Linked DNA regions of Homo sapiens: region 2 is linked to region 1. The links are contacts of gene promoters, found by promoter capture Hi-C in human tissues and cell types (Jung and others, 2019). All regions are on one chromosome and are shown on one strand. Each heading gives the region's core, a stretch centred on a gene start or on the middle of the fragment in contact. The rest is flanking DNA. Distances are from core to core; before and after follow the strand shown.

Region 1 (7,178 bases), core at 3,558-6,057:
TAAGCTATATTAAATTATCTTCCTTTTTTCAAAGATTTTCTTTTTCTTTTTTTCTTTTTTTTTTTTTTTTGAGACAGAATCTTGCTCTGTCCCCCAGGCTGGAGTGCAGTGGCATGATCTCCACTCACTGCAAGCTCTGCCTCCCAGATTCACGCCATTCTCCTGCCTCAGCCTCCCAGGCAGCTGGGACTACAGGCGCCCGCCACCATGCCCGGCTAATTTCTTGTATTTTTTTTTTTTAGTAGAGATGGGGTTTCACAGTGTTAGCCAGGATGGTCTTGATCACCTGACCTCGTGATCTGCCTGCATCGGCCTCCCAAAGTGCTGGGATTACAGGCGTGAGCCACCGCGCCCGGCTTTTCAATGATTTTCAAAAGCATTTAGATACTTTCCTTATCAAACTGGAATTGACTCTTATAAAACAGTCCTACTCAAGTTTTCGAACTGCTGTCAAAGACAAGAAGTGTTTTGAGACCTAGACAATATCAGGCATATTGTAGATCACTAGTTTAATGAGGAAAATATGACTGTGGAAAATGAAGATTCTAATATGTCATGTTTAAAAGTCAGAATTCACTGACAATGTCTTATGATACTACTTTTTCAAATCTCTCACGAAGCTGAAAAGATTTTTTTTTTTTTTGAGACGGATTTTTGCTCTTCTTGCCCAGGCTGGAGTGCAATGGCGTGATCTCAGCTCACTGCAACCTCCGCCTCCCAGGTTCAAGCGATTCTCCTGCCTCAGCCTCCCTAGTAGCTGGGATTACAGGCGCCCGCCACCACGCCCAGCTTATTTTTTGTATTTTTTAGTACAGATAGGGTTTCACTACATTGGCCAGGCTGGTCTTGAACTCCTAACTTCAGGTGATCCACCCACCTCAACCTCCCAAAGTGCTGGGATTACAGGTGTGAGCCACCGCACTGGGCTAAAGATTTTTGACTAGTGGAAAAAGTACTAAATAACTTCTGTCAATAAAATAACAAAAATTGCATAAAAATATCTTTCAACCTGTTCCACATCAATTTAAAGAATTTCAGGAAATGATAATGTTCTTTATCCGATTTAATAAAGTCAACTAACATTTCGGTCATTACACTCTTCCAAGGACTTACCATTGGCCTGATGAATCTTTCATATTTAGGTGGTTTTCTTGTAAAGCCATCTCCAACAAAGCACACTTTAGTAACCATTCTCTTCCATGCCTTCTTCTTTCTCTTTCCTGTTCGAATAACTTTTAATACTTCTGTTTCTCCCTGGGCACGTACTTTAGGCAGAGGGACTTCCCATTTTCCCTAAAAATATGCCACAGTTAAAAGTTTATATTGTTATTAAAGGACAATGAGAATAAGTCAAATATGTTTTAGTTGTACAAAGTAATAGATCTATTTTTTTTGCTTGACCATCAACACATTTTTGGCTCAACCGTCTTCTAGAGGTCTGTATTGTCTCATAAGCTGCAAATTAAACAGAACAAGTTTATATATCATGGGTATGTTAAATAAATGGTTGGCTTAAGCTAAAAATCTTAATGCTGTGTTATGGGTGAGAAAATACCACCTGTAATGTGGTGGTTTTTTTTTTTTTTTTTTTTAGATGGAGTCTCGCTCTGTTGCTCAGGCTGGAGTGCAGTGGTACAATCTTGGCTCACTGTGCAGCCTCCGCCTCCTGGGTACAAGCAATTCTCCTGTCTTAGCCTCCCGAGTAGCTGGGACTACAGACACACACCACCACACCCAGCTAATTTTTGTATTTTTAGTAGAGGTGGGGTTTCACCACATTGGTCAGGCTGGTCTTGAACTCCTGACCTCAGGTGATCCACCTGCCTTGGCTTCCCAAAGTGCTGGGATTACAGGCGTGAGTCACGGTGCCCAGCCGATAGTGACTTCTATAAGCAGTATATGTGTTTACTAATGTTTAATAGCATAATACTGGAAGAGTGTTTCCACCTCTTAATATGTCTCTGTATTTCTTCCCGAGATGGATCTGTAGATCACTAGCAAGACAAAATCCTCACCAGATGTTTTATGCCTCCCTTGAGTGCAAATTCTATGAAAAAACTGAAATAGTGTAAGGCAGTAAAAATAATTCTTTAAATATAAATACTGCATATTCTTTTATCTGGATTTCTGCTAATCTATTTACAGGTGTTTTAAAAAGCCACATTTTTTGTGACAACTCAGGGAGTTTTCCACCATTCTACTTTTTAACCAAGTTTGGCACTACAGGGCAGCACAAATAAGAAGCATTTGTATTTTTCTTTATGACTGCATAGCACTGTGGGTTTTCAAACAGGAAGACAAATATTGAATTTGAAATTCACTCCTTACCAGCTTTTTAATTTCATATGGCATTCTAATAAATTTTTTTTATAACTTAAATTTTAAAACCTTATGATGAGAAAGCAAGTTTTTTATTAAATTTACAAAGACTTCAACATCTAAATAATGGGAATAATAGCTGTACTTCATGTTTGAAATTAAACCGAGAAACAAGAACCTCAAATTTGAATTTAAGTAATTCTCCTAAACAAAACAAAGACTTCAATTGTTATTGCTTACCGCCTTCTCTTTTCTTTTCTGTTTAATCATATTGGAAAGTACTTTAGCTCGAGATTGTCCCTCTCTGTCCAGCAGATAGGCAGGTACTGCTCCCTGTGGTGTCTTTTCATCATTCTTTTGTTTGGTGTTTCTCTTTTCATGCATCTTGATACTACCAAGAAGGAAAAAAGATTCAAGATTATCTGTTTTAATAATGATTACTCAAAAGATGTTAACTTGTTATGACAAATAAATGAGACCACTTACGTCTTTTTCATTTGTATTTTCTCAGCATGACGCTGTTTATGGTAAAGCTTAGCCTTCAGACCAATCATTTTCTTTGCCTTCTTTGAACGTTCATGAGCCTCTCGACTTTCCTTCTTTCTCTTTTTCTCATGGTAATCCAAACGGTATCCATAGCGTTTACGGTGTAATTCAATATATTCATTCTGTGGCTATAATGATGGAAGAAATATTATTTTAATTTTTTAAAGTACTGACAATTATTCTAAAATGCTTTCTTTTACACAGCACAAAGACCCTGTTTCATCCAAATGTTCACTTACTTAAATGATTCTTGCACCATTAAGTTTATTCACATGATGTAAGTTAAATTTTGGTCTTGAATGATATGAGGCATCAGGGCTTACATCTCTAATAATCTCATTAGGGAATGGTCCAAAATCTACTGGACCACAAAAGGGATGAACTGATTACAGTATCTTTTTTCCTTGACATAATTTGCTTTTTTAATAACACCTTCATTTCACATTTAAAAAATTTAAGTCAGTTTTATTGAAGCATAATTTACACACAGTAAAACCTGTCCTTTTTAGGTATACAGTTCTAAGTTTTTCCTAACTACACAGTTCTGTAACCACCACAATCAAAATACAAAGAATTTCCATTTCCCCCTAAAATTCCCTATGTAACTTTTAAGTCAATCCTCTTTCCCAACCCTCAGTTTGATACCTATCCCTACAGTTTTGCCTTTCCCAGAATGAAACAGGGATCAACAGTAGTACATAGCCTTTTGAATCTGGTTTCTTGCTTTTGGGATTCACCCAATTTGCTGCAGGTATAGGAACTTCAATCCTTTTTATTGTTGAGTAGTATGCTATTGTATGGATACACCACTGTTTACCCGCTGACCAGATGATAGGTATCAGGGTTGTTCCCAGTTTTGGGTGATTACGAATAAATCTGCAATAAACAACTGCATGCAAGTCTTCATGTGGACGTGTGTTTACTGCCAGACCGTTTTCCAAAAGTGCATTATTTTTCTTTTCACCAGCAATGTATGGGATGCTTTTTGCATTTTAGACACGTTTTAAACACGCGGCCAGGCGTGAGTCTATTCGTATTTTAAGGCTGCAAAAATAAAAATGATACAAAGCCAAGTCCAGCACAGAGAGCAATGTTAAGTAACAACCAACAAGGTGTGCTGCTACCAACTGCTATCACATAAACTTTGCAGCAATCACATGAAGGGTGTATGGAATGCCATTTTGCAAAGAAACGCAGATTATAGAGACGTAACACAAAGAGAAAGGACCTGGCAGTTAGATCTGGGCCGTTAAGCCCGGCTTCGCAATTCATTAGCTGTCTGGTCTTTGGCAAGGACGCCTTCAGTTTCCTCAGCAGTAAAATGAAGGGGGCGGGACTGACATCTAAGACTGTACAAGGGACAACCATATTCCCATTAGGCTCTGGGGCTGATAACCACGCTTGTGGTGAAATCAGGAATTTTTAGGACTCTTAGCGGTGGATCAAAAAGAAAAAAGAAAACAGGACAGAGTAAAATCTTGCTCCAAAGCTTGTGTTCTGGCAAATACCGTCTGTGTCTCGAATGTGAAGTTGTTTCCACTCCTCAGAGCCCACCCCACGGGTCTACCATCCTTTTCTCTTGGCAGTTCTCATTTCCGCCTACCACCGCTCACCCCCTACCCCAGCGCCCCAGAGTCCTCAGGTCCCACTAACTCAGACGCTGTGTGTCGCGAGCGTCCGAGGCATCCTCCTTACCATGGTGACGGCCGCAGAGCCGCCAGGAGCAGCCGCTGGAGTGCGAAAACGCTCTCAATTTTCGGGTCTCAAAGACCCACAAGCCCACACCACGCAGGCCGGGACAGGAAAGAGTCACCCTTTAAAACGGCCGAGTGAAGAGCAAGAACCACGCAGCGGTTCCGAGCCTCTGTTTTCCGCTTTTAGCTAGGAGGACGGAAGTTGCTGGCAGGCGGCATTTGGCCGGTACACCGCCGGAAGTGTGGAGGTGTGGCTGCCCGAGGCGGTAGAGCGGAGAAAGCCTATTTTCTTTTCGTTTAGATACATTGCCTTTTGCCTAGGCTGGCGTCGAGACTTGAGGCCGTTGCAGACTTTGGCGCGGCTCGCGCCTCCTGCTTCAAGAGCCCAGCGGTGAGAGCTGGCCTGCGGCACGCGGCCTAATGCCAGGTGAGTACTGCTCCGAGCTGTGAGACATCGCGCGCCTGTGACCCTGTCACAGCGCTGGGTACCGCTGACCTTTCAGGCTGCGACGGACACAGCCAGCCACGGAAGAGGACAACAGGGCCTCCGGACTCCCCTCGGTGTTCGCTCAGTATGGAAGTTTTTCTCTATCATTCGGCGAAGTCGACTCATCTTTGTTCCGGTCACTCTGTGTAATGTGTGCATGATTGTGAAGGATACTGAGGAATGAAAACTTAGTGTACAGAAAAATGGAACTACTGGGGCTTTGCAGCTGTTAGAAAAGAAGAAGATAACATTCTGGTTTTTTGGAGGTACAGGACTGATTCCAGAAATTTCTGAGGCATTTTGGTGCACCGAATCAAATGCTGAGTGGACTTGTATTTAGTGGCCCCCTAGTGTCAAGAAGTAATTAACTACCAGAAAGTACGTCTACTTAAATACACTATCAGGTTTACCCTTTTACTGCACAGTTGCAGAAGTTCCCTTAATTACTTCACAGCTTGCAGCGTGATTCAGTTGATGAACAAAAAGAACTGTACCAAAAGAATACTTTCATTAATTCTTAGTGCTTGTATTTGAGGCAGTATTTTGTTTTTGTTTTTGTTTTTATGGGTATTTTGAGACGGCATCTCGCCCAGTCGCCCAGGCTGGAGTGCAGGGGCACGAGCTCGGCTCACCGCAGCCTCGACCTCCCGGGATCAAGCGATCCTCCGACCTCAGCCTCAAAAGTAGCGAGCTACAGGCTCGCGCCACGAAGCCTGGCTGATTTTTGTAGTTTTTGTAGAGATGAGGTTTCACCGTGTTGCCCAGGCTGGTCTCGAACTCCCGGGTACGAGCGATCCACCCGCCTCGGCCTCCCAAAGTGTTGGGATTACAGGCTTGAGCCACAGCGCCCGGCTTTGAGGCAGTTTTTGTTTTGTTTTGAGACGGAGTTTCAATCTTGTCGCACAGGCTGGAGTGCAAATGCGCCATCTCGTCTCACTGCAACCTCTGCCTCCCGGGTTCAAGCGATTCTCCAGGTTCAGCCTCCCAAGTAGCTGGAATTATAGGCGCTCGCCACCACACCCAGCTAATATTTTTGTATTTTTAGTAGAGATGGGGTTTCACCATGTTGGTCGGGCTGGTTTCGAACTCCTGACTTCAGGTGATCCACCTGCCTCGGCCTCCCAAAGTGCTGGAATTACAGGCGTGAGCCACCGAGCCCCGCCTTTGAAGCAGTTTTTTAAGGCTCCATTTTCTAAGGTGATCTCATCATTCTCTTTAAAACCAGAAATAGTAACTAGCATTTGTATATTTTAGGTACAGTACGTTATATAATCTCTTTGCCTTTAATGCGCCCCTCCCCGCCGTCCCTCAATCCCCCGAATTTCCTCCCTCATCTACTTCAGGTCTTTGCTTAAATGTCACTGTTTGAATGAGGCCTTCCTTGATCTCTTTACTTACAGTTCTAACTGTCCCAATTCCTCCTTCCTGCTTCATTCTTCTCTACAGCACCCTATCATCATGGGAGAGACTATGTATTGTATTCGTTACTTTTGTTTGTTGTCTGTATCCCCTGACTACGGTAGAGGCAGTATGAGGGCAGAGATTGTTGTCTTTTGTTCACTGCATTAACGCTGATATCTAGAAAGCAGTGGGTAGGCAGACACACAGTAAATTCTTGTTGAATAAATGGGAACGAATAGGCTTGGGCGGGGGAGGGCTGGGTTGTGCAAATTATCTTTTTATTGACAACCACTGAGTTAAAGAAGAGGAAAATGTCTATTACAGTCACAACTGTGGAGAGACTATGAGGCCCTGAACTTTGGCGTTACCAATGAAAAGGGAATGGATTCAAGGCCAGGCATGGTGGCTCACGCCTGTAATCCCAGCACTTTGGGAGGCCGAGGTGGGTAGATCACTTGAGGTCAGGAGTTCACGACCAGTCTGGCTAACATGGCGAAACCCCGTCTCTACTAAAAATACAAAAAGTAGCCAAGTGTGGTGGCACATGCCTGTAGTTCCAGCTACTCGGGAGGCTGAGGCAGGAGAATCGCTTGAACCCAGGAGGCAGAGGTTGCAGGGAGCTGAGATCAAGCCACTGCACTCCAGGCTTGGTGACAGGGCAAGACCCTGTCTCAAAAAAAAAAAAAAAAAAAAAAAAACAACAAAGGGAACAGATTCAAATATATTTAGGA
Region 2 (7,178 bases), core at 2,868-5,367, 1.2 Mb after region 1:
GGCCAGCTAATTTTTTTAATTTTTTGTAGAGATGGGGTCTCACTATATTCCCTAGGCTGGTCTCAAACTCCTGGCCTCAAGTGATCCTCCCACCTCAGCCTCCCAAAGCACTGGGATTACAGGTGTAAGCCACTGTACCAACCTAAAATATGATTATTGTATCATAGTGCACATGTTTAGATGCTTAATTTATTTCTAGTATCTTAATAATTTTGACATAGATTACATACTGAAATTATATTTTATATGTAATATATATTTTATTTTTACATTAGATATTAGGCTAAATAAAATGTGCTATCTAACTTTTAGGTCAGGCGTGGTGGCTCATGCCTGTAATCCCAGCACTTTGGGAGGCCAAGGTGAGTGGATCACCTGAAGTCAGAAGTTCCAGACCAGCCTGGCCATCACGGCGAAACTCTGTCTCTACTAAAAATACAAAAATTAGCCGGGCAAGGTGGCAAGCGCCTATAATCCCAGCCACTCAGGAAGCTGAGGCAGAATCGCTTGAACCCGGGAAGCAGAGGTTGCAGTGAGCTGAGATCCCACCACTGCACTCCAGCCTGGGCAACAGAGCGAGATGTCATCTCAAAAAAAAAAAAAAAATTAATTTATCTAATTTTTAAAAAACTTTTCAGGCCAGGCACAGTGGCTCACACCTGTAATCCCAGCACTTTGGGAGGGCGTGGTGGGCAGACCACACGAGGCCAGAAGTTCGAGACCAGTCTGGGCAATATGGCGAAACCCCGTCTCTACTAAAAATACAAAAATTAGCCAGGCATGGTGCTGCACACCTGTAATCCCAGCTACTTGGGAGGCTGGGTCACGAGAATCGCTTGAACCTGGGAGACAGAGGTTGCAGTAAGCCCAGATTGTGCCACTGCACACCAGCCTGGGCAACAGAACAAGACTCTGTCTCAAAAAAAAAAAAAAAAACTTCAAAATATATGAATGTACAATAATGATTTTAAAAGATGGTTTATAGAATAACATTATTTGAAAGATTATCATTCAAATGGTTCAATAATGTTGTTTAAGTATACAAGTTAAAACAAATTGTGTCAAAGGAGAAAATAAGTAGCTATGGGTGGCCGGGTGTGGTGGCTCACGCCTGTAATCCCAGCACTTTGGGAGGCTGAGGTGGGCGGATCACGAGGTCAGGAGTTCAAGACCTGCCTGACCAACATGGTGAAACTCCGTCTCTACTAAAAATAAAAAACTTAGCCGGGCATTGTGGCGCGTGCCTGTTATCCCAGCTACTCAGGAGGCTGAGGCAGGAGAACCACTTGAACCTGGGAGGCGGAGGTTGCAGCGAGCCGAGATTGCACCACTGCACTCCAGCCTAGGTGACAGAGTGAGACTCTGTCTCAAAAAAAAAGAAAAGAAAAGAAGTAGCTATATGTAAACAAAAGGTCAAAACTATTTTCAACTCAACAGGTTTTTTTCTCCTGGAAATCATTATCTGTATACTTATCACAAATATTGCTGAAATAACTCATTTCCTCAAGCAGTAAACAGGTGTACACTAATAATAATATACAAAAAAATTAAAATGCCAACCTATCCAGTGAGCCAGAGAGTAACCTCTGTCCAGAGCTGCTTAGACATAAACATGTCACGGTTTTGTGATGATTTTTCAAAGATACTAGCAATTGTCCTCCTTTTAACATGTCCCAGACTTTAACATAACGACCTCCTATAAAAAGAAATCATCGTTAGTTGGATATTCTGCCCACAGATTCAACATATTAAAGATCTGAAAAGCATTCTTCTCTGGACACTCCACAAAGCATGGAGGCTGAGTGAGGGAGTCCAGGCCAGGCTGCCTGGTAAAATCCTGGATGCACCACTTCCTGGGTCATTGGTAATAACAGTTCCTACCTCACAGAACTGTTATGACCATTAAATAATATTTGTGAAGTGTACATAAATTCCAGCAAAATAAATGTATAACTGAAAGAGTCCATTTTAAGAAAATTATAATAAAATCATTTTTTAAAAGAAATTCTATATAGCAGTGGAAGTGAATAATGTAGATCTGCAGCAAAATATCAAGCAAAAAAGTCTAATATGGAAAGACAGAAAAAGGGATGGAAGGGGAGACTGAAATCTTGACTGGGGAACAGGAGTTGGAACCCAACTCACAGTTCCCACCTCTCCACTCCTATGTGGCACCTCACAAGAGGGATCACAGTTGAAATCACTGATCTAGTCCAACCCTCTCATTTTCAAGGTCTAGAGACCTTAAGGGATTGCCCGAGGTCACAATTAGCTAGTGACACACAGTGGAGATCAGCACACAGCTTTCTATTCTCCCTGTTCAACATGATATTTTTTCCATTTGTCAGAATAACAGCAAGAAAAGTAGACACATCTGACATTATCAACTTTTTTCTTTTTTTAATTAAAGATGGAGTCTTAGAGTCTTGCTATGTTGCCCAGGCTGGTCTCAAACTCCTGGACTCAAGCTATCCGCCTGCCTCAGCCTCCCAAAGTGCTAGGATTACAGGCGTGAGCAACCACATCCCGCCTCAACTTATTTTTAAATCAAATAGGTACTGGGGAAAAGAATATAAAACAGAGTAATTTCTAGCCAGATTTTAGAATTAAGAAAAAAAAAAAAAGGAGGTACACACAGCAATATATATGTTGTCAAGTATACATACTACCTATACATTCTTCTAATATGAACACATTTTTACTTTATTTACAAATGAAAAAAGCCAATTTACTTCTTCCACTGTAATTATGAAAATGCAATATGTGCAAAATGAGAAAAACATCTCAGTCCCAACTTGTTGAAAAATGTACCAAGGCCCCTTTTGAGGCCACATTATCTCCTTTCTCTAGTACTAGCAGCTATTTGCTGGGTAGTGGCATTTCAATCAAGAGAGTCACAGAAAAAGAGACAAGCCTACTAGATCTCAAATAACTGATTTTCAAAAGCTGCTGCAGATCTCTTAGGTAGGAGTAAAAGGAGTATGAGCTAAATTTCTGGGGTTAAATAAGATGGCACAGGGCTAAATACATAAGAGCTAAATTTCTGGGGTTAAATAAGATGGCACAGGGCTAAATTTCTGGGGTTAAATAAGATGGCACAGGGCTAAATAAATAAGATGGCACAGGGCTAAATACACAGAGCTCTCGAGTTCTGTGATTTCAGATCTGCCACTTACCACTTTGCCTTGAAAAATAAGTTAAAACTTTTATTTCATTGCTGTAAAGTAGGGAAAAAGCTAACTACCTTGTAGCATCATCTAGGGCATTAGAGTTCATATGTAACAGCACAGTGCCTGGCTCACATTAGGTACACAATAAATGATAACTGCTTGCCAGTCCTACCTATCAACTGTTTGAACAAAGACTTAGATATGCAATTCAAATGCACACTGATAAATTACAAAGAGCAACTGATTTTAAACAAACGTGATTCAAAACCAACAATATTGGTGAAAGCTATTTTTAAGAAGTACCTGCTGACACCAGAAGACCTCCAGAGGGGAAAAGTAGGACACTCTCCACTGGCTGCCCATGCTCAACGGAGAGAACACTCTCACTCGTTCGTGCATCAAACATCTTCACAGTATGATCATATGATCCTAAAATGTCAATTTTTGAATTTTTAGTTTGACTGTTTAAAACAACAAAAACTGTGTGTATCCAGATATAAATTTTAAAAGGAAAAAAAGCTTAGATGGAGTTTTAAAAAGACATATATGTATATTCATGAAGACACAGGACCTCCAAACCATCTACTACTGATCGTGTCTGAAGAAGCACTACATAATACTATACAGAATCTAACTTGCTCTGATCTTAAAATATTTCTTTCTTTGGACTACTGTCACTACTGAATCATCTGGAAATCTTTGTAAAGGCACCCACAAAGGCTAAACTGCACTCTTTGTTTCTTGGCTGCTTGAGGCAGGGTACTATACATTACAGTTCTGAGAGTCTATTATGTTTTCAAGACAGCCTGATTTTTCCAAACACATTTGGAAGACATGAACAATCAACAAAAGAAGAATAAGAAAATAAAAAACAATTGGAAGCCAGGCATGGTGGCTCACACTTGTAATCCCAGTCCTCCGGGAGGAAATTGAGGTAGGTGGATCACTTGAGCCCAGGAGTTCGAGACCAGCCTGGGCAACATGGCAAAACCGTCTCTACAAAAAAATACACAAAGTAGCTGGACGTGGTGGTGGGCACCTGTAGTCCCAGCTACTTGGGAGGCTTATGTGGGAGGATCACTTGAGCCCAGGAGGTAGCAGATGCAGTGAGCTATGGTCACATCACTGCACTCCAGCCTGGGCAACAGAGTGAGACCCTGTCTGAAAATAAATGCAAACATACATACATAAAAATTAATTTAAAAACTGAAGAATTAATCAGAAACATATTCCTTTATAAAAAAAATTTAAACCCCTCCATCCCAAAAGAGTCCCATAGCAACATTAAAGTACATCCCCGTGAGATTATTTGCTTCAGGAGGGAATAGAGTTCACCAACCTGTTATAAAGAGATCCGGATTAAGTTTGCTAGCACATCCACACCTCACATAATCAGAGTGTTCTTTAAATGTCAAAATTTCTTTGGAGTTTGGAATATCCCATAATTTAACTGTATAATCATCAGCCCCAGAGACCACGTGATATTTGTCAGCTGTAAAATCTACTGTATGAACTGCTCTGAAAGATTGAAGGTCAGTATATTAAAAAGCAAGAAAATTATTTTTCTGATACCTTCTAACATAAAATGCTCCTTTTTCTCAGATTAAAAAAAAAGCAGCTGAGTTTCAGGGAGTCTTCATAGGGGGAAATCATGAAAGAAAGAGAAAACTTACAAGTGTTTGCCCCCAAACCAATTAAGAAGTGTAAATACTCCTATATTGTAAAGTTAAAAAAAATTAAAGGATAGCCTTAAAATTATATTTTCTAGTATATAAACAATTCCACTTAGCTGCTGAATATGGAAGCAAAGGCACTTTAATTTTTAAAATTTCAAAAAGTTCTTTAAAAAACTCTAAAGAGATTTACCACTAAATAGAATCATGTTACATAAATTTCTGTTAAATTTTAACAAATTTCAGCACGGACATTGGCAATCCTGAAAACAAAGTTATAATATAAAATTGTGATGGCCACTTAATTTATTAAGGGGCAAAACACTATAAATTCAAGAAGAAAATCCACCTTCCTACTTGACTTCAACATAAGAGCCTCTAAGACAGTACAGGCCTATAGAGCTGTCATTACCAGCTGTAAGGTTGTCTTCAGGTCAGTAATTCATAATCTCAGCTGGGCCACAGACCCCACTAAAGTTAACCAAAAGCTACAGAGTAGCTCCCTAGATAAACGTGTATTTCCTAAAATATCACATACAATTCTAGGGAATTCATAAGCCCCATGAAACTGGACCACGGAACCCAAGTTAAGCACTCTTAGAACAATCAGGAAATATAGTACCTATAGGCAAATAATCTCCATAAAACTGATCTCTATCTTTTTAACCAAAGTCCAGAGAAAAAAAGAGCTTACAACAAAATAAAACCAGAACACACAGAAACCAACTGTCTCTTACTTTGTATGGCCTTCAAACTGCCTGAGGGGAGCCCTCCCACTTATATCAAAAAGTTGAACTCCACCATCTTCACTGCCAGCCACAAGCAATCTACCATCTTGTCGAAAAGTAGCACAGTATGCTGTGTCTTTAAATCGAGAAAAGGTTTTTATAGGTTCTTGGGAGTATCGGCCATAAATGTGAATCTACAAGATGAAAAACAGTATTTCACCAGATGGCTCAAGATCAGTAGTAAACTATACAAAAGAAAAATAAAGAAATTTAATATTATACTTACTCTTGAGGAAGCTGTGACAGCATAATTATATGGAGGCTGAGGAGAAAAGTCTACTTTTGAAACTGCACCAAATTCCTTAATCTGAACAGGGGTCTTAATAAAAAATAATAGTGTGTTAACAGAGTTACCACTGGTAAGACCTATTTATGCATTACATAATTTCTTACAGACCGTTTCTCTTTGTTCTTAGTAACATTTCTTAAGTTGTATTTAACATAAAATTACAAAGAAAGCAAAAAAGGTACATATCTCATCACCCAGACTATTCTTGTTGCCACTGAAATAAACATATGGTTAGAAAGCCACACCCCACTCTGTCTCTTCAGCTATTGAGTTTACTGTGATTTCTACCAGAAAAAAAAAGTTATCATGTCTACACCAGCATACAATAACCACGTACTTGTACTTTTAAAATAACAAAAAGATAATCATACCATGTAGGCTGTTCCACATCTTGCTTCTTTTCACTTAGTAACACATATTAGCTTTCATAGGAGCAATAGACTTACCATCCATTATAAGGGCACACTGTAATTTACTATACCAGTCCACTACTAATAGACATGGGTTTTTCAAGATTTCTACTATTACAAGCAATACTTCAATAAACATCTTTACACATATGAGATTCAAATTTTAAAATTTAATTCATTTGGCATTGATTGATCATCTGTTCTGTGCTAGGCATTTGTATGGTTAATCTGATTAAGCAGTATGGACTTTTACATAAAATTCCAAGAAAAAATAGATATCAAATTATCTGCCCAAACTATAAGCTGCTGATAGATGGTTTTCAGTTAATAATTCTCTGTTAGAGCATCCAGAGTATAACATATGCTAGAGAAATTGGCATAAACACAAATCCCTTCTCCCTCATTACGTCCCACACTCACCTTATAGTTGTTCCAGTACAGTGTATCTTGGGTGATTTTTTCACCAAGTATAGGATATGTCTGAATAGCTACAGGCTTATAACCAGCCATAATTCCATATAATTGCACTATTGTCCAAGAGTCACTATTTTGGAATTGGTATTAGAAATAATTACAGTGACTCTGCCTTAATTCTGAAAAATAAAATATTTTATATACATATTATAAGCTTGTACACATAGTTGATTTTCACTCTGCTTTCTTTAAAAAGTCTGTGTGGAAGTATATAGATTAGAGACCAATAAGCCATTTAATTCTAACCCAGAAAAGGCAATCTATAGGAAGCAGGAATAATTAAAGTGAAGGCTATCATATCGCACCATCTATTCAGCTGTACACAAAGGTTCTCACACCTAGCCAACCATTTTACAACACTTAGGAATAAATCT

The links. The method cuts DNA at HindIII sites, captures the fragments that hold promoters and counts their contacts. A contact is called where the count stands out against the background at its distance.
Region 2: a contact is called between a fragment that was not itself captured here and the fragment with the promoter of GFM2 in region 1, in 2 of the 25 tissues and cell types used here (hippocampus and spleen).

Annotation. Positions count from the first base shown.
Region 1 is chr5:74,764,746-74,771,923 of GRCh38, reverse strand. GFM2 (GTP dependent ribosome recycling factor mitochondrial 2) reads left to right here and starts at 4,807. Exons shown (of 21, transcript NM_032380.5): 1 at 4,807-4,986. It overlaps NSA2 (NSA2 ribosome biogenesis factor), which reads right to left and starts at 4,675. Exons shown (of 6, transcript NM_014886.6): 1 at 4,561-4,675; 2 at 2,806-2,993; 3 at 2,560-2,710; 4 at 1,114-1,293. The coding sequence starts at 4,563. RefSeq lists an enhancer at 4,655-5,094. The HindIII fragment of the contact is 4,613 bases long and covers 3,604-7,178 here.
Region 2 is chr5:73,567,007-73,574,184 of GRCh38, reverse strand. It overlaps UTP15 (UTP15 small subunit processome component), which reads right to left. Exons shown (of 13, transcript NM_032175.4): 2 at 6,751-6,923; 3 at 5,858-5,950; 4 at 5,581-5,765; 5 at 4,510-4,688; 6 at 3,474-3,599; 7 at 1,561-1,696. The coding sequence starts at 6,840. Among named protein-coding and RNA genes, the nearest start is that of UTP15, 4.9 kb to the right of the region's middle. The HindIII fragment of the contact is 7,294 bases long and covers 471-7,178 here.